2 separate regions of the Homo sapiens genome follow, and region 1 is linked to region 2. The links are contacts of gene promoters, found by promoter capture Hi-C in blood cells and fetal thymus (Javierre and others, 2016). All regions are on one chromosome and are shown on one strand. Each heading gives the region's core, a stretch centred on a gene start or on the middle of the fragment in contact. The rest is flanking DNA. Distances are from core to core; before and after follow the strand shown. Region 1 overlaps NPSR1-AS1 (NPSR1 antisense RNA 1). Region 2 holds the start of NPSR1 (neuropeptide S receptor 1).

Region 1 (3,598 bases), core at 965-3,464, 210 kb before region 2:
AGGTATCTGGTAACAAAAATAGGTAAACATTTTGTGCTCTAACAATATAGAGATAATAAAATTAGCAAAAATGTAGGACGTGAGGGGAAGGTTAAGTGAAATGTAAGAACTTATTGATTGTGTTATGTGTATTAGCTGGGAGTAAAAGAAAAGCCTTTGAAACTCAACACCTAGTTATAGAAGTTAAATATGTTTAAAAGCACTCTTGATAACACTAAGGCAATACTAGGTGACTAAAACAGTATAGTGAGGGAGAAGGAAGGAAGGGAGAAAAAAATTACAGTAATTTCACTACTGGTCATAATGGGGAAATGGGAATCTGTGAGTTTATCTAAAGAAAGAGGACAAAGTATATTCTGTAAAGGTGTTAGTAACAATTAGAATAAAATTACATTTTCTTTTTTAGTTGAACTTTTATTTTAGATTCAAGGAGTACATATGCAGTTTGTTACACGAGTATATTGTGTGACGCTGAGGTTTGGATTACAGTTGAACCCCTCACCCAGGTAGTGATCACAGGACTTCATCAAAGAGTTCTGAAAGGAGTTTTAACCTTTGGCCCTTCTCTCCCCCGCTTGCAGTTGCCAATGTCTATTGCTCTCATTTGTATATCCATGTGTACCCAATGTTTAGCTCCAATTTATATGTGAGAACAGTAAAAACAAAAACAAAAATATATGTGAGAACACGTGGTATTTGGTTTTCTGTTCTTGCATTAATTTGCTTAGGATAACCTCCAGCTGCATCCATGTTGCTGCAGAGGACATAATTTTATTCCTGTTTATGGCTGCATAGTATTTCATGGTGTATTTCTACCACTTTTCTTTATCCAATCCACTGTTGATGGCACCTAGGTTAATTCCATGTCTCTGCTATTGTGAGTGATGCTGCAATGAACATATGAGTGCATGTGTCTTTTTGGTAGAACGATTTATTTTCCTTTGAGTATATACCCAGTAATAGGATTGCTGAGTCAAATGGTCCTCAGATTTAAGTTCTTTGAGAAATCTCCAGATTGCTTTCCACAGTGGCTGAACTAATTTGCATTCCCACCAGCAGTGTATAAGCATTCCCTTTTCTTTATGGCCTTGCCAACATCTGTTATTTTTTGACTTTTTAATAATAGCCATTCTGACTGGTGTGAGATGATGTCTCATTGTGGTTTTGATTTGCATTTCTCTGATGATTAGTGATGCTCGGCATTTTTTCATATGTGTTTGCTGCCTGTATAACTTCTTGTGAAAAGTATCCATTCATGACTTTTGCCAATTTTAATGGGGTTGCTTTTGTTTGTTGATTTGTTTAAGTTTCTCATAGATTCTGGATAGTAGATCTTTGTCAGATGCATAGTTTGCAAATATTTTTTGTCATTCTATAGTTTGCCTGTTTACTCTGTTAATAGATTCTTTTGCTGTGCAGAAGCTCTTTAGTTTAATTAGGTTCCCCTTTAATTTTTGTTTTTGTTGCAATTACTTTTGAGGACTTAATCATAAATTATTTGCCAAGGCCAATGTCCAGAAGGGTATTTCCTAGGTTTTCTTCTAGGATTTTTATAGTTTTAAATCTTACATTTAAGTTTTTATTCACCTTGAGTTAATTTTTTGTATATGGTCACAGGTAGCAGTTTAGTTCCATTCTTCTGGATATGGATAGCCAAATATCTCAGCACAATTTACTGAATACGGTATTTTTTTTACCCATTATTTATTTTTATCAACTTTGTCAAAGATCAGTTGTTGTAAATGTGTGGCTTTATTTCTGGGTTTTCCATTCTGTCCCATTGATCTATATGTCTGTTTTTATATTAGTACCATGATGTTTTGGTTATTGTAGCCTTGTAGTATAGTTTGAAGTCAGGTAATATGATGCTTCTGGCTTTGTTCTTTTTTGCTTAGAATTGCTTTGGCTATTCAAGCTCTTTTTTGGTTCTGTATAAATTTTAGAATAGTTTTTCTTTCTAATTCTTTGAAAAATGACATTGGTATTTGAGAGAAAGAGTAGTGAATCTGTAGATTGCTTTAGGCAGCATGGCCATTTTAAGGGTATTGATTCTTCCAATCTATGAGCATGGAATGATTTTTTTATTATTTTGTGTCATCTATGATTTCTTTTAGCAGTGTTCTGTAGTTCTTCTTGCAGAGATCTTTCACTTTCTTGTAAAATTACAACACTTTCTACTTTCTACACACACACACACACACACACACACACCACACACACACAGATCACATACAAATACCCCTCCTGACAGAAGAGCAAGGAAAACAAACACACAGTGAAAGATTTTTATTGTATAAATAAACATACATTATATTATCTCAGATATTAAATAACAAGATTTGCAGACTAAGCAAAACCCAATGCTTTATATTACTCCTGAAACGTATCTAAAATGAATGATTCAGAAAGGTTAAATACAAAAGGATGCTAAAAACTGTACCAGAAACATTTAAGGAAAAAGAAAGTGGAGGTCATAATTTTTATATTAGACAAAAATAGAATTCAGATCAAAGAACATTAAATAAGACAGAAGAGAGGCACTTTACACTTCTAAAGGCTAAAATTTATGATGAAGATGGAATAGTTATTAAGAGTTATGCACTTAGTAACAAAGCATCAACTTGCATAAAGCAAAAACTATAGGAAAAGAAGAAATACAATAAACACACTGAAAACACAGAACTTTAACCATATTTTCAGAGTACTCTCACAGTTCAAAGACCAAAAAAATCCATAAGGATATAAATATATAATGAATAAGAAACTTATTTTCAATCACATGTGAACCAATTATGAAACTGATTAATGAATAGGCCTCAAATAAAACATCAGTAAATTCCAAATTTTATATGTGTATGTATATATATGCATATTTGTGCATATATGTATATATGTGCATATATGTATATGTGCACATATATGTATATGTGCACACACATACATACACAGCATTCTCTGATAATTATGCAATAAAACTAGAAATTAACAATAAAGTAAGAAACAAAAATGACCTACCACATGGGTATGAAAAAGAAATAAATGACTAGCCTGGTAAGAATTAACACTTTAGAAAATGAATGACTAAGAAGCAGGATTTGCTGATGGATTGGATATGGTTAGGTACTATAGAGAGGTACCAGGACATCAACTAGATTTTGGGCTTAAGAAACTGGAACTAGTTGGGTCGGGCGCAGTGGCTCACGCCTGTAATCCCAGCACTTTGGGAGGTCGAGTTGGGCAGATCATGCGGTCAGGAGATCGAGACCACCCTGGCTAACACGGTGAAACCCCGTCTCTACTAAAAATACAAAAAATTAGCCGGGCGAGGTGACGGGCCCCTGTAGTCCCAGCTAGTCCGGAGGCTGAGGCAGGAGAATGGCGTGAACCCGGGGGGCGGAGCCTGCAGTGAGACAAGATCGCGCCACTGCACTCCAGCCTGGGTGACAGAGCGAGACTCCGTCTCAAAAAAAAAAAAAAAAAAAAAAAAAAGAAAGAAAAAAAAAGAAACTGGAACTAGTTATTCAGGTAGGAAAGACTGGGAGAAAAGATAGTAATGATAGAAATAAAGATTCTATTTTGATCATGTTAAAAATGAGCT
Region 2 (3,929 bases), core at 168-2,667:
CCGTTTCCCTTCAATCTTGTCAGCACTTGGGGATAGCCACACGCTAGCTTTCACTATAATAATAGGTAAACATTCTTACTGGTTTTAGTTATTTTCCTTAATTTTTAATATGGTTGAGCCTATCTTCATACTCATTTGTTAGTTGGAATATGCTGCACTTGTTTTGCTATTGAGTTGTTGTCCTGTTTTGAACCTTTCCTTAAGAGTCCACAGCTTATCCAGTTTTCTACACAACTCACTTCTGTTTGCTGCCCTTCATTATAGACTCAATGCCTTCTCATTGCTAGAGCACTGTGCCCTCCTTGGGGCTCGATGGTTTATAATAAAGCTTCCCCAGGAGATCTCATGGGGGCCAGGTTCTTTAGTGGTGGCCACTAAAGCTACTACCTCTTATTCCAGGTGCCATAAACCAGTGGCTGGACCTGGTTGGTTCACAGAGTGTTCTCAATGTGAGGAATCAGGTATTGTGCTTGGTTGTCATATAAGCAGCTTAGTTCCCATTGTTTTATACCTGGCCTGCTACCCTCATTCATGTTACCTTCATGCCCCATAGACATTTGAGATTTGATGCAAACCAGTCTGTTACAGTAAAAGCACCACTGTCTAGGAAGTTCTGGAGATGGGTTATCAGCTCATTTACATCAGCAGCTGCGGGATCTTGGGCAAGTCATTTCACCTATTGGAGCCACTCTCTGCTAGCATAAAGGAGAACATAAAGATACCTTCCCTGCCTATCTCACAAGGTTGTTTGGGAAACTGAATGAAAGAACGTGTAAATGTGCTTTGCAGGTTTTTTGTGAAACAGGAATAGCTGTTAGTATTCTCGCCTAGCCCTGTCTGTGGTGCCCAGGATGCTGCATTACCTCCTTTCTACCCTCGCCCTGAGTATTGGTCCTAGGTAGAAGCTGAGGTGAATATACTGAAAGCAGTAAGAATCTTCACCAGGCCCCTCCCAGTCATATCACAAGGTGTTGTAGCTTATTGACAAACACAGACCTCATGTTTCTCTGAGAACCGCCCTGTGAACACCTAGATAGAACTAAGGGTGTGAAATACAAACGTACTATTTGCCTACACTTACGGAAATAAGAGCACATGACACAGTAGATGGCAAGGTGAGGCTTTAAGTCAGAAAGCAACCTCAGCTGAAACAAATGCATAATTATAATTTGATTTCAGAAGTGGAAACATGACCCGAATTCATGCACCTACTGATTAGTCCAAATTCCTTTATTGTTGAAGCTGGAGCAGAAGTGGGGGTCCACCGTGGAAGTAAGGAAAAGCAAAACAGAACAGGGGTCTCATCCAGGGAGCCATGTCGATGGCTATGGGGAGCTCCACCTTGCTCTTGGGGTGGGGCCCTGGCCCTGGGTGGGACTGTGGGGTGATGAGGGTTGTGCTATGCTGGCTACCTGGTGGTAATTGCCAAGGAGAGAGCAGCACGTAGATCCTCCCTGTCATCAGGCAGAGCTCTTCAGTGAGGTGGGCTCAGGGAGGGCTCTGTGCCTCCGTTCAGCAGAGCTGCAGCTGCTGCCCAGCTCTCAGGAGGCAAGCTGGACTCCCTCACTCAGCTGCAGGAGCAAGGACAGTGAGGCTCAACCCCGCCTGAGCCATGCCAGCCAACTTCACAGAGGGCAGCTTCGATTCCAGTGGGACCGGGCAGACGCTGGATTCTTCCCCAGTGGCTTGCACTGAAACAGTGACTTTTACTGAAGTGGTGGAAGGAAAGGAATGGGGTTCCTTCTACTACTCCTTTAAGGTAAGTTTCTTGCCTGCGACTCTGAACACTGACTTATAACAATGAGACTGCTGGAACTTAAGAGTGTCAATTGAAGTATCATAGCCAGTATTGTGAATGAGTGTTATTTTCTTTACTAAAAAGGATTTTTAAAAGTCTGAAGTGCTAAAACAACAAGCTGTAGTGTGCAGAGACCTAGATTGTAGTTTCTTAGGAATACAGGTGACGTTTTTCTTTCTGATGCTGCTGGAAATGTGTGAATCGTGAGTAACATTTATGAGTGGATGATTTTTACTTTCCCCCTTTCCTTAGGTGAAAGCACTTTTAATTAATCCTATAGCAGTACTTGAAATGTCTGTTTCTAGTAGGGGTTAGAGCTATGAGTTTTTTGCTAGGAACACCAGAGATGCGGAAAGCTCACAATCCCCAGGACAGTGACTGATATGATGAGAAACAACATTGAATAAGGCAGGAAGGACGACACTTTCTTTGATGATCCTTTTCATTAAACATCAGTGAGGAATATATTTCTTTGAGGGTAGTTGATGATGCCACCATTTGCAACAAATTACCTCCTAGAACAAATGAAGGACAGAGAGTTTGGTGAGTTTCACCTTCAAAGTATCCAAGGGCCACACTGAGGAAGGATCTTCATTAAGCTAATACTGTATTGTTTCTTATTCCGCAACAAGATCTTGTGGACAGAAATGAACCGCACATTTGGGAAAAGAACAGTTTCCTGCTTCTTGCCTCAGAATGCTGGGTTGTCAGGTTATTTCACACCTGTCTAACGATATGTTTAGTCATTGCAATAATTCACAGGTCTCAAACTGGTCCTTTCCACTGAAGAAAAAATACTTCAAAAAGATTCTAGTTGTTGCTTTGTTGGGTTTTGTTGTTGTTGTTGTTGTTAATCCTCTGTATGTTCTTGAAATGATTTGGTTTTTACACAATGAGATAGCATTACTGTAACATCCACCTCCCTACTGGAAGTTCACTTCTTTTGCAAATATTCAGAATAAAACTTTCAGCAGGGTGCTGTCCCAGGAGTCAGACTTAAACTTCCAGGGCCCTAATGATCCTGCAGCAAAGCAGAACCTGAGCAAACTACTCCTCCACTGGCTTCAGTGAAACCCTGTCCCTTGGAATCACCTCCTAATGCATATGCACATACGCAGCCCAGCTGCACAGCTCCACGATGTAGCTTAGAAAGTAAAATTAGAGTTTGTTGCCACTTAATGTCGACTGAATAATCCCCTTTATGAAATCAGCCTGCAGACCCAGAGAGTCTGTCTTGGCAGGCTGTGTGCACCCAGGAAGCACAGGACTCCACTCAGTATTGCTGCCTGTGTAGCCTCTTTGATATTCTTAGAACATGATAGCAAGCAGAATGAAGAGAGGCCCTCCATTGCAAAGGGAATAAAATCAGCAATAAGGTGGTTATTCTGAGACTCTGGCAAGAATCAATCTCAGCTGAAATCTCATTTGCCATTTTTTGAATATAGCACCTACAGGGATATTTGGAATATGTGAAGAAACAAATCCCACCTTGCTCTCTATGAGTGTTTGTCCTCTCTATCCTAGCAACATCATCGCCAGACACTAAAGAGAATCACAGCATCTCTAGCTGATTCCTATTGATATGTTTGCAGCAAAACGGCTGGACCACTGGACAAGGAGAAAAGCAGAAAGACAGGAATTGTGTTTGGCCAGGAGCTTAGAATGCTCAGATTCATTATTTGAGAGATACGTGTATTGACTAAAACCCTGTGATTTTTAGTTACACAGTGATTACTGGTGGTATTTGTGAGAACTTAGCTTATATTTCTTAGTGTAACTTTTTTTCTATGATCCCCTTTGGGCACAAGCAATTCTAATGCATTGTTGATACAGAAATAGTTCCAATGCAAGCCCTTGTTCACTGCAATTCATTTTATCTGACATACTTCTAGAGAAGAAATTCGAAACCATGCTCCCTTTACTGTCTCCCAGATGTATCCCCTTTAATCCCCATTGCCTTCATCAAAAGCAGTAAAAAAAATAGCATGAAAATAAAAATAGCAGCAGCAGTAAAAGTCACAGAAATAACAGCAACAACCATACGTCTCATTTACTTTGGGCATTCTTGGTGCCAAGAGTCATAGCAAGACTCACTTAGCAAGTGACTTCTGTGAAGTATCTCATTTAATTC

What was found. Contacts are between HindIII fragments. The CHiCAGO score rates a contact against its expected background, and 5 or more counts as called.
Region 1: a fragment that was not itself captured here is called in contact with the fragment with the promoter of NPSR1 in region 2 in 1 of 17 cell types (neutrophils); the score reaches 5.2 in neutrophils.

What each region holds. Positions count from the first base shown.
Region 1 is chr7:34,447,604-34,451,201 of GRCh38, forward strand. The region is part of intron 2 of NPSR1-AS1 (NPSR1 antisense RNA 1); the gene reads right to left. Among named protein-coding and RNA genes, the nearest start is that of NPSR1, 210 kb to the right of the region's middle. The HindIII fragment of the contact is 4,559 bases long and covers 1-3,598 here.
Region 2 is chr7:34,656,801-34,660,729 of GRCh38, forward strand. It overlaps NPSR1 (neuropeptide S receptor 1), which reads left to right and starts at 1,418. Exons shown (of 9, transcript NM_207172.2): 1 at 1,418-1,759. The coding sequence starts at 1,613. All of the region lies in intron 2 of NPSR1-AS1 (NPSR1 antisense RNA 1), which reads right to left. RefSeq lists an enhancer at 3,457-3,929. The HindIII fragment of the contact is 9,279 bases long and covers 327-3,929 here.